2 separate regions of the Homo sapiens genome follow, and region 2 is linked to region 1. The links are contacts of gene promoters, found by promoter capture Hi-C in human tissues and cell types (Jung and others, 2019). All regions are on one chromosome and are shown on one strand. The core of a region is centred on a gene start or on the middle of the fragment in contact, and the rest is flanking DNA. Distances in the headings are between cores, read along the strand shown. Region 1 overlaps DKKL1 (dickkopf like acrosomal protein 1). Region 2 holds the start of SNRNP70 (small nuclear ribonucleoprotein U1 subunit 70).

What was found. Contacts are between HindIII fragments. The study calls those that stand out against the background at their distance.
Region 2: a contact is called between the fragment with the promoter of SNRNP70 here and a fragment that was not itself captured in region 1, in 1 of the 25 tissues and cell types used here (dorsolateral prefrontal cortex).

What each region holds. Positions count from the first base shown.
Region 1 is chr19:49,371,899-49,377,950 of GRCh38, forward strand. It overlaps DKKL1 (dickkopf like acrosomal protein 1), which reads left to right. Exons shown (of 5, transcript NM_014419.4): 5 at 2,819-3,218. The coding sequence ends at 3,130. All of the region lies in intron 2 of LOC101928295 (a long non-coding RNA gene), which reads right to left. Among named protein-coding and RNA genes, the nearest start is that of DKKL1, 11 kb to the left of the region's middle. The HindIII fragment of the contact is 4,218 bases long and covers 613-4,830 here.
Region 2 is chr19:49,081,456-49,087,594 of GRCh38, forward strand. It overlaps SNRNP70 (small nuclear ribonucleoprotein U1 subunit 70), which reads left to right and starts at 3,996. Exons shown (of 10, transcript NM_003089.6): 1 at 3,996-4,181; 2 at 4,950-5,106. The coding sequence starts at 4,960. It also overlaps the pseudogene RN7SL708P. RefSeq lists enhancers at 3,672-3,741, 4,092-4,181. The HindIII fragment of the contact is 18,802 bases long and covers 1-6,139 here.

The DNA.
Region 1 (6,052 bases), core at 1,472-3,971:
TGAGAATGATGGTTTCCAGCTTCATCCATGTCCCTGCAAAGGACATTAACTCATCCTTTTCTGTGGCCGAATAGTATTCCATGGTGTATATGTGCCATGTTTTCTTTATCTAGTCTATCACTGATGGACAATTGGGTTGGTTCCAATTCTTTGCTATTGTGAATAGTGCCATAATAAACATGCATGTGCCTGTGTCTTTATGGTAAAAAAAAATAGTATAATAAATATCCCTATAGTCTCTTTTCCATAAACCAAAATTTCTTAAGGTTGGCATCATTGGCATGTGGGGCTGGATAATCTTTATTGTGGGAGCTGCCCTGTGCACTGTAGGATATTTGATAACATCCCTGGGCTCTATCCACTAGAGAGAAGTTGCCTCCTGCCAGGCACAGTGGCTCATACCCGTAGTCCCAGCACTTTGGGAGGCAGAGACGGGCGGATCATGAGGTCAGGAGTTCGAGACCAGCCTGGCTAACGTAGCGAAACCCCGTCTACTAAAAATACAAAATATGGGGCCAGGCACAGTGGCTCACACCTGTAATCCCAGCACTTTGGGAGACCGAGGCAGGCAGATCATGAGATCAGGATATCAAGACCATCCTGGCTAATGCGGTGAAATCCCGTCTCTAGTAAAAATACAAAAAAATTAGCCAGGCATGGTGGCAGGCGCCTGTAGTCCCAGCTACTCAGAAGGCTGAGGCAGGAGAATGGCGTGAACCCGGGAGGTGGAGCTTGCAGTGAGCCGAGATCGTGCCACTGCACTCCAGCCTGGGCGACAGAGCGAGACTCCGTCTCAAAAAAAAAAAAAAAATACAAAGTATGGCCAGGAGTGGTGGCTTACACCTATAATCCCAGCACTTTGGGAGGCCGAGGCGGGCAGATCACCTGAGGTCAGGAGTTCGAGACCACCCTGACCAACATGGAGAAACCCCGTCTCTACTAAAAATACAAAATTAGCCGGGCATGGTGGCACATGTCTGTAATCCCAGCTACTCAGGAGGCTGAAGCAGGAAAATCGTTTGAACCCAGAAGGTGGAGGTCGCGGTGAGCGAAGATAGCACCATTGCACTACAGCCTGGGCAACAAGAGCGAAACTCCATCTCAAAAAATAAATAAATAAATAGGCTGGGCATGGTGGCTCACGCCTGTAATCCCAGCACTTTGGGAGGCCAAGGCAGGTGGATCACCTGAGGTCAGGAGGTTGAGACCAACCTGGCCAACATGGTGAAACCCCGTCTCTACTAAAAATGCAAAAATTAGCTGGCATGGTGCCATGCCCCTGTAATCCCAGCTACTCTGGAGGCTGTGGTGGGAGAATCGCTTGAACCCAGGAGGCAGAGGCTGCAGTGAGCCGAGATTGTGCCACTGCACTCCAGCCTGGGCTACAGAGTGAGACTCCATCTCAAAAAAAAAAAAAAAAGAACACAGTCATGTTGGATTAGGGCCCAACCTAATGACCTCATCTTCACCAATTATATCTTCAATGACCCTAGTTCCAAATAAGGCCACATTCTGAGGTATTACAGGTTAGAATTTCAAAATATGAATTTGGGGAGGAAACAATATGGTTGTTTGTTCGTTTGTTTTTTAAGCCTGGGTCTTGCTCTGTTGCCCAGGCTAGAGTGCAATGGCACAATCTTGACTCACTGCAGCCTCTGCCTCCCAGGTTCAAGTGATTCTCCTGCCTTAGCCTCCCAAGTAGCTGGGATTACATGAGCGCGCCAGCACGCCCAGCTAATTTTCATATTTTTAGTAGAGACAGGATTTTGTCATGCTGTCCAGGATGGTCTCAAACTCCTGACCTCAAGTGATCTGCCCACCTCAGCCTCGCAAAGTGCTGGATTACACACATGAGCCACCGCGTCCAGCCAGGAGGAAACAATTTAACACATAACAATCTCCTGCGCGGCTTCTCAGACCTCATCTTACTAAAAGGCAGACTGATTCAGCAGGTCTGAGTGGGGTGGGACCTATTAATTTGCATACCTAACAACAGCAGCCCACCCTTTGAATTGCAAGGACCAAACAGACACTCAGTCCATATTCAAACTTTCTCCCTCAACTCAAAGCTGTCCTTGAAAGCTTTATTTTTTTTTTTTCCCTTGAGATGGAGTCTCGCTCTGTCACCCAGGCTGGAGTGCAGTGGTGCGATCTCGGCTCACTGCAAGCTCCGCCTCCTGGGTTCATGCCAATCTCCTGCCTCAGCCTCCCGAGTAGCTGGGACTACAGGCGCCCGCAACCATGCCCGGCTAAATTTTTTTGTATTTTTAGTAGAGACAGGGTTTCACCGTGTTAGCCAGGATGGTCTCGATCTCCTGACCTCGTGATCCGCCAGCCTCGGCCTCCCACAGTGCTGGGATTACAGGCATGAGCCACTGCACCTGGCCCCTTGAAAGCTTTTGATTCAGGATCAATGAAGGATCACACATTGCATTTATGGTCATGAGTCTTCGGTAAACCCAAGAGCTTTTAGTCCTAAAGTGCTTTGTACATTTCAAACTGCTATCCTCTAAACCTCAGAGAGGATTTAATCCTAAAGTGCTCTAGAATCCCAACAGGCATTATAATCCCTGAAGTGCTCTATTACCTCCCTTTTGAAAGCCCCCAAACAAATTTTCCAATCCCAAAGCATTCTGTAAACCTCAGAGTATTTTTAATCCTTAAGTGTAAACCCAAGTGCTTTGTAAACCTCAAACAGGGCTTTTGAACCCACAAAGCATCCTGTCATCTGCAAAGTGGGCTGAATAGGTCAGTGGGGACTGACCATCCTGGGGTGCTGTTTGGAGTATGAGAGGGTCTCCTTGTTCTTCCTCCCCAGGTACCCAGGATGGAGGAGAAGGAGGCCCTGGTACCCATCCAGAAGGCCACGGACAGCTTCCACACAGAACTCCATCCCCGGGTGGCCTTCTGGATCATTAAGCTGCCACGGCGGAGGTCCCACCAGGATGCCCTGGAGGGCGGCCACTGGCTCAGCGAGAAGCGACACCGCCTGCAGGCCATCCGGGATGGACTCCGCAAGGGGACCCACAAGGACGTCCTAGAAGAGGGGACCGAGAGCTCCTCCCACTCCAGGCTGTCCCCCCGAAAGACCCACTTACTGTACATCCTCAGGCCCTCTCGGCAGCTGTAGGGGTGGGGACCGGGGAGCACCTGCCTGTAGCCCCCATCAGACCCTGCCCCAAGCACCATATGGAAATAAAGTTCTTTCTTACATCTAACAACACCATCTCCTTTCACTATTTATCCCCAACCGCCTGCCAACCAGGCCATGGCAAAGGCCCCCAGTCCCAGCTCTGAGCATGAGAGCTGGCTGTGCTAGCTCTTGCCTAAGTCTCCCAGGCTTGGTTTTCTCATTCAGGCATTGTCTGTGCTGTAGCCCCATCTGTCCACTCAGCACCCAACCCTGTCACCTCCAGCCCTGTCTGCACTCCCAACTCTCAGCTATTTTTTTTTGCTTTTTTTTTTTTTTTGAGAACAGGGTCCCACTCTGTTACCCAGGCTGGAGTGCAGTGGCACAATCACAGCTCACTGCAGCCTTGACCTCCCAGGCTCAGGTGATCCTCTCACCTCAGCCTCCCCAGTAGCTGGGACCACAGGTGTGCGCCACCACGCCCAGCTAATTGTTGTATTATTTAACATAGGGATCTCCCTGTGTTGCTCAGGGTGGTCTTGAACTCCTGGGCTCAAGCGATCCTCCCACCTCAGCCTCTCAAAGTGCTGGGATTACAGGCTTGAGCCACTGTGCCCGGCCCCCAACTCTTTCACTCCAGTCCTCTCTACTTGGCCCCCGTACTGTTACTGCCATAAAAATGGGCACAAACTTGGCAACTTAAAACAACACAAATGCATTATTTCACATATCATCCTGGTCAGAAATCCAGGATGGCTCCGCTGGCCCTCAGCTCTGGGTTTCACAGGGTGTCAGCCACCCGAGCTCTCATTGGGAGGCTCTGGGAAGAAGCTGCTTTCAAGCTCATTCAGATTTTAAGCAGAATCGAGTTCCTGGGCTTGTGGGACTGAGGTCCCCACGTTCTTGCTGGCTGTCAGCTGGGGGCCACCCATGCTTCCACGCTTAGCTCCAAGAGGCCTCTCTCCAGTTACTGCAGGTGGACCTGACATCCCAGAGCCACAGCCCAGTATCATGGCGGGACTCTGACTTCCCCTTGTGTCCCATCTCTGGTATGCCTTCCTCTTCTGGCAGAGACAGTCCTCTGCTTTGAAGGGCTCATGTGATTGGACTGGACCTACCGGGACAACATATTTACAGTTTTCAGGAATTATGGGGTGATCATCTTTGGGGGACCACTATCCAGCCCCACTCAGGTCCTTCCCATGTCATCTCCAGCCTCGACTCTGTGGTGTCCACACCCACCTATCCTTGTCTTCATCTTCTCATTCTCTCACTACCCCCTGACGGAGAGACTCCATCTCCAACTTGCTATTTCTCTCTCTTTGTCCCTCTATCTGACCCTCCCTGCTCACCACCTCAAACTCCCTCACTTCCAGGCCTGATGCCACGTCCAAACTTGGAAGCTCACAGAGCTTGCCTGTGGTGGTCTGTCCACTTTGTCCTTCCTCAGAGCATTTCCTGTCCCCTCTGAGAATCCTCCGTCATGACCCATCAAGGAGAAAGCTGATCTGATCCTCCCCAGTGCTGAGTCCCATCTAGGACCCGGACACGGCATGTACTCTCTCCCTTGAAGCCCAAGCTGAGCGCTGGATCACCCCATAGACTCACACACTCAGGAACCCAACAGTGAGTACAATGAATACAAGTCAACTTTTTTTTTTTTTTTTGAGACCGTCTCGCTCTGTCGTCCAGGCTGGAGTGCAGTGGCATGATCTCAGCTCACTGCAGTCTCTGCCACCACCCAAGTTCAAGTGATTCTCATGCCTCAGCCTCCCAAGTAGCTGGGACTACAGGTGCTCACCACCACGCCCAGCTAATTTTTGTATTTTTAATAGAGATGGGGTTTTACCATTTTGGCCAGGCTAGTTTCAAACTCCCAACCTCGGGTGATCTGCCCGCCTCAGCCTCTCAAAGTGCTGGGATTACAGGCATGAGCCACCACGCCCGGCCAAGTTTGGCTGCTTCTAAGGCCTCTCTCCTTGGCTTGAGGATGGCTGCTTTCTCACTGTATCCTCACATTGTGTCTTTTTGTTTTTTTTGTTTTTGAGACAGAGTCTCACACTCTGTCGCCCAGGCTGGATGGAGTGCAGTGGCGTGATCTCCACCTTCCAAGTTCAAGAGATTCTTCTGTCTCAGCCTCCCAAGTAGCTGGGACTACATGCACGCGCTGTCATGCCTGGCTAATTTTTGTATTTTTTAGTAGCGACAGGGTTTCACCATATTGGCCAGGCTGGTCTTGAACTCCTAACCTCGTGATCCACCCACCTCGGCCTCCCAAAGTGCTGGGATGACAGGCGTGAGCCACTGCACCCGGCCCACATTGGCTTTTATTTGCAATTCTAGAATAGGGCAGTACCTCATTCTATAAAGTAAAATGAGTGTTCCCATGAGCCGAGCAGAGAAGGGTTGTTTACGATCTCGGCTCACTGCAATCTCTACCTCCCGGGTTCAAGCGATTCTCCTGCCTCAGCCTCCCGAGTAGCTGGGATTAAAGGCTCCTGCTGCCACACCCAGCTAATTTTTGTATTTTTTGTAGAGACGGGGTTTCACCATGTTGGCCAGGTGGTCTTGAACTACTGACCTCAAGTGATCCGCCTACCTCAGCCTCCCAAAGTTCTGGGATTACAGGCGTGAGCCACCGCACCCAGCTAATTTTTGTATTTTTAGTAGTGACAGGGTTTCATCATGTTGGGCAGGCTGGTCTCAAACTCCTGACCTCAAGTGATGCACCCACCTCAGCCTCCCAAAGTGCTGGGATTACAGGCGTGAGCTACTGTGCCCGGCCAGGGATTACATTTCTTTTTTTTTTTTTTTAATTTTTTATTACAGAACAATTATTATCTGTCATCAAACTATCCTTTCAGATTCATTTTGAATACCTCCTTTCTTTTTTATTTTTCTTTGAGATGGGAGTCTCGCTCC
Region 2 (6,139 bases), core at 2,746-5,245, 290 kb before region 1:
GCTTCAATATGGTAACCTCCCATGCGTGGGAGACTACCAGGTTGCCTAGCAGGGGTTGAACTGACCTAGGCTGGAAATGGATCAGGTCAAAACTCCCATGTTGATCAGGAGTGGGATCATGCCTATGAATAGCCACTGCACATGAGCCTGAGTGACACAGTGAGACCCTGTCTCTGAAAAATCAATCAATAAATAGGAAGCACAGCATAAAAGTTTAGAAAAGTCACAACCTGGCAATGTGGTAGAGAAGGGAAGAGCATTTTTTAGGAGAGAAATAGAAGCAGGCTGTATTGCCTTGCTGGAGAGGTTGCGTGACTAAAAGGAAGCCAAGTGCTAACATCCAAGACAATGGGAAAAAGGCCTTGAAGGCATTTCAGGAGTCTTCAAAACAGCCTCCCCCATCACAGGCTCTGAGGCATATAAGGAAAGAGTGGTTTACTGGGCCAGATCCAGGGCCCTGTCTCCTGCTCAGCCTGGGGACACTGCTCCCCTGCATCCCTGCTGTTCGATCACCAGCCATGACACACAGGGTCCCAAGTACAGCTTGGGCCACCACTCCAGAGGGTGCAAGCCATAAACTTTGGCAGCTTTCATGTGGGATTAAGCCTGCAGGTGCACAGAATGCAAGAGTGAAGGAAGCTTAGCAGCTCCCACCTGGATTTCAGAGGATGTGTAGGAAAGCCTGGGTGTCCAGGCAGAAGTCGGCTGCATGGTTGGAGTCCCTACAGAGAGCCTCTACTAGGACAGTGCCAAGGGGGAAAGGTGGGGTTGGAGGCCTAACATAGAGTCCCCACCAGGGCGCTGCCTAGTGGAGCTGTGAGAAGGGGACCCCTCCTCTCTAGATCCCAGAGTGACAGGTCTGCCAGCAGATTGCACCCTGAGCCTACAACAGCTGCAGGCACTAAACTCCAACCTGTGTGAGGAGACATTGGGGCTGGACTTTGCTGCCCAAGACTTTGGGAGCCCACTCCTTGCACCAGTGTGCCTTGGATGCAGAACATGGAATCAGGGATTATTTTGGAGCTTTAAAGTTTTTTTTTGTTTTTGTTTTTGTTTTGAGACAGAGTCTTTCTCTGTTGCTCAGGCTGGAGTGTAGTGGTGCAATCTTGGCTCACGACAACCTTCGCCTCCCGAGTTCAAGCAATTCTTCTGTCTCAGCCTCCTGAGTAGCTGGGATTACAGGCACCTGCCACCACACCTGGCTAATTTTTGTATTTTTAGTAGAGATGAGGTTTCACCATCTTGGCCAGGCTGGTCTTGAACTCCTGACCTCGTGATCCATCCACCTCGGCCTCCCAAAGTGCTGAGATGACAGGTGTGAGCCACTGTGCCAGGCTAGAGCTTTAAAGTTTAATGTCTTCTCTGCTGTGTTTCAGACTTCTGTTAAGCCTATTGTCCCTTTCCTTTGGCAGATTTCTCCCTTTTATTTTATTATTATTATTATTTTATTTTTATTGTTGTTGTTTTGAGACAAAGTCTCGCTCTGTTGCCACGCTGGAGTATAGTGGCACGATCCTGGCTCACCGCAACCTCTGCTTCCTGGGTTCAAGCAATTCTCCTGCCTCAGCCTCCCAAGTAGCTGGGACAACAGGCACGTGCCACCATACCCAGCTAATTTTTGTATTTTTAGTAGAGACAGGGTTTCACCATGTTGGCCAGGATGGTCTCGATCTCTTGACCTCATGATCTGCCTGCCTCAGCCTCCCAAAGTGCCAGGATTACAGGTGTGAGCCACCGTGCCCAGCCATCATTATTATTTTTTGAGATAGAGTCTTGCTCTGTCCAGGCTGGAGTGCAGTTGCACAGTCTCAGCTCACTGCAACCTCCACCTCCCAGATTCAAGCGATTCTCCTGCCTTAGCCTTCAAAGTAGCTGGGATTACAGGTGCATGCCACCATGTCCAGCTAATTTTTGTATTTTTAGTAGAGAAGGGGTTTCGCCATGTTGCCCAGGCTGGTCTTGAACTCCTGATCTCAGGGATCCTCCTACCTTGGCCTCCCAAAGTGCTGGGATTACAGGTGTGAGCCACCACACCCGGCCTATTTTATTTGTTTTTTTGAGACAGATTCTCACTCTGTTGCCCAGGCTGGAGTGCAGTCGTGCAATCTCTGCCTCCCGGGTTCAAGCAATTCTCCTGCCTCAGCTTCCCAGGTAGCTGGAATTACAGGTGCGTGCCACCACTCCCAGCTAATTTTTGTATTTTTAGTAGAGATGGGATTTCACCATGTTGGCCAGGCTGGTCTCGAACTCCTGACCTCAGGTGATCCGCCCACCTCGGCCTCCCAAAGTGCTGGGATTACAGGTGTGAGCCACCACACCCAGCCCTTTTCTTTCTTTTTTTTTTTTTTTTTTTGAGACGGAGTCTCGCTCTGTCGCCCAGGCTGGAGTCTAGTGGCACAATCTTGGCTCACTGCAGCCTCAACTTTCTCGGCTCAAACGATCCTCCCACTTCTTTTTTTTATTTGAGACGGAGTTTTGCTCTTGTCTCCCAGGCTGGAGTGCAATGGTGCCATCTTGGCTCACCACAACCTCTGCCTCCCAGGTTCAAGTGATTCTCCTGCCTCAGCCTCTCAAGTAGCTGGGATTATAGGCATGTGCCACCATGCCCAGCTAATTTTGTATTTTTAGTAGAGACGGGGTTTCTCCATGTTGATCAGTCTGGTCTCGAACTATTGACCTCAGGTGATCTGCCCGCCTTGGCCTCCCAAAGTGCTGGGATTACAGGCGTGAGCACTGCACTCGGCCTTTTTCTTGAAACATAAAATTAGTCATTTTAATTTGCAATAATTTCTGTAGTTATTAAACAGGCTATTGAATCCATCCACAAAACTTAAGATACAATACTTAAGAACAGGGCTCTAAATAACAAGTGCCAGCTCTCTGATCTCATGGCCAACAACCTGAGATTCCTGCCATCTGGTCTCAGTTCAGGACCTTTGCACTTACTGTTAAACACCGCCCCCCCGGCCCCACCCCAGATCTCGCTTCTATCTGTCCTTTATTCAAATGTTACCTCTTCAGAGGGGCCTTCCATTATCACCCTTTCTAAAACAGCCTCGCTCTCACTTCCCATCCCTTTATTCTGCTCCATCGTTCTTCATTATGCTGGCCACTATCTCAAATTATCTTTTATTATTTATTTATTTATTTACTTTTGAGACGGAGTCGCTCTGTCGCCCAGGCTGGAGTGCAATGGCACGACCTCGGCTCACTGCAACCTCCGCCTCCCGAGTTCAAGCGATTCTCCCGCCTCAGCCTCCAGAGTAACCGGGCTTACAGGCGCGCACGGCCACGCCCGGCTAATTTTTGTATTTTTAGTAGAGACGGGCTTTCACCATGTTGGTCAGGTTGGTCTCACACTCCTGACCTCAGGTGATCTGCCCGCCTCAGCCTCCCAAAAGTTCTGGGATTACAGGCGTGATCCACCGCGCCTGGCCTCAAATTATCTTTATTCAGTTAAATGCTTTTATTGTCTCTCCCAGTACAATGTAAGCCCTAGCAGCAGAAGACTTTGCTTTAATCACGTGCTGTACCCCCAAAGCCCAGACAGTGCCTAGCACACACGAGATGCTCGATGAATAGTTATTGATTGAATAGATTAGACATCAACGCAATCAGGCTGTTCACCTAGGGACTCTTTGCTAGGCGGCGGAGAGGTACGTTACAGTTCTCTACGCAAAACGCATGCGCGAAAGATCCGGGAAGTGTGATCGGAAAGGGGCGGAGCATCAGGGAGAGTCTCGCGGACATAGGCGGTTCGGCGCGGAAAGCGGGAGGTGGAGGGGCGGCTTGGGGCAAGCGCGCGCGCGCAGTGCAGAAGCCAGCCCCCCGCGGCTGAGGTACTCAAGGTGCCCAAAGGCGGGGTAGTGACCTCGCGCGTGCGCTGTGCCCGCGGCAGCGCCGGGTCCTAGTGTGTGGGTTGTTGTTGGCACCGCACGGCGCGTGCGCAGTGAGGACGGCGGAGGGATTTGCGGCCGGGACCCACCCCCTGCTCCAGTCGCTATCGGAGGCCGCGCGGGTGGCTGAGCAGCGGCCTGGTGCGCTCGCTTAGCGGGCGACGGAATCAGACGGACGTGGACGCCCCCGGAGTGGAAGCCGAAGCAGGAGTTGTTGTTGCTGAGGGGCTGCCGCAGCCGCCGCGAGCCTCCGGACAGACGCCAGAGCGAGGAGGGCGCTACGCGGTGAGTGAGTGTGACTGAGTGGCCCGACGGGGTGCGGGGCCGCTACCCAGAAGCCCCAGCGGTGGGCCCGGTCCTCTTCCCCGCGGCCAGGCCCCTTTCCCGCGTCCCCGCCACAGGTCCCTTCTGCATCCCTTTCCCGGACCCCGAAATCTCTGGGCACCCACGCCCGCTTCCCACAGCGCCCTCGTGGTTCCCTACCCACAGGCCCTTGCGGTGTGTGGCCTTTTTTCTTTTTCGTTTGTCTATGTTGTCCTGGACCCTTACCCATAATTCCTTTCGCTTTTTGCGGGGTCCAGGTCTGTTACCCACAAGCACTTGGTTTTGGGGCTTCGCTCCTTATGTTTCTCTTTCTTTGCTTGGAAACTTCCGATCCCCAGGACCCTGCAAACTGCATCTCGTAATTTGCCCTCCACGGCACGGGACGAGCAGCCACAGCTGCTCTGGGCCTCCCTCCTCGGGTCCTTGATTTCCCCAGAAATTCCCAGGGAACCTCTCCGCCCCACAGCTCGTGTCAGAGGACTCTGAGACTTCACTCTTCAGGAACCCTTTTCCAGCCGTTATTTTTGTTTTCTTTACCGGCCTTTCACCTCCACCCCCACCAAGACGTACCCTTTTCTCCGCAACACAGGACTGTTCTCTGCCCTTACAGAGCCTGTTTTAATTCCGAGACTTTTCTCCTGTCTTTCTTATTTTGAGAGTCAAGGAGTAACAGGGGCTTTCTCTGTGCAGACCCGATCTAACCTAAGGCTGTCCTGCTTCTGCTCTCAGACTTGGCAAGATGACCCAGTTCCTGCCGCCCAACCTTCTGGCCCTCTTTGCCCCCCGTGACCCTATTCCATACCTGCCACCCCTGGAGAAACTGCCACATGAAAAACACCACAATCAACCTTATTGTGGCATTGCGCCGTACATTCGAGAGTTTGAGGTGAGTTCACTGAGCAGGCCAGGAATGGTTTGGGTTCTGGGGAGCAACGGGTTGGATTTGCGAGTCCAGCTTCTGGCCATTTTGCCAGCTGCGTGATTTAAGCGAGGGGCTTAACCTTTGTGATCCTCAGTTTCTCTGTTTTAAATGGGGTTGGAGCCGGGTGTCGGGTGTGGTCGAGTGCGTCTGTAGTCTCAGCTACTCAGGAGGCTGAGGTGGGAGGATTGCTTGAGCCCAGGAGTCGGAGGCTGGAGTGCTTTGTGATTGTGCCACTATACTCCGGCCTGGGTGACAGAGCAGGACTTCGTCTCTCAAAAAAAAAATTTTTTTTTTAAGTGGGGTTGTGGCCCGGTACGGTGGCTCACGCCTGTAATCCCAGTACTTTGGGAGACCGAGGCAGGCGGATCACTTGAGGTGAGGAGTTGAAGACCAGCCTGGCCAACATGGTGAAACCACGTCTCTGCTAAAAATAACAAAAATTAGCCGGACATGGTGCCTGTAATTCCAGCTACTTGGGAGGCTGAGGCACGGGAATCACTTGAACCCAGGAGGCGGAGGTTGCAATGAGCCGAGATCGCGCCACTGCACTCCATCCTGAGCAACAGAACAAGACTGTCTCAAAAAAAAAAAAAAAAAAAAAGTGGGGTTGATAGTACACCTTTTGTAGAATTTTTGTGAAAATTCAGTGAGTAGTGGTTGAGGATTCATGCCTAACCCACACCATTTATCAGCTCTGACTTTGGGCAAATGTTGTATCCTCTTAATGCATTGGTTTCTTTATCTTTAGCAAGGGGATAGTGGTAGCACCCTTATAATGTTGGTGGAGAATTAAATGGCAAACTGTATGTCAGGGGGCTTGGCACCAAGCAGTCAGCACATGTCAGCCTTTGTTACTCTGTTTACTACTTTTATTGTTAATAAGATGATGTTCATAAAGGCTTAGCACCCAGTATTGAGTATTGGAGGGCTTAAAACTGCAGATGGGGATCTTAGCTCTGCACCTTTGGGATAAATAGGAATGAATGACTTAGGCTCC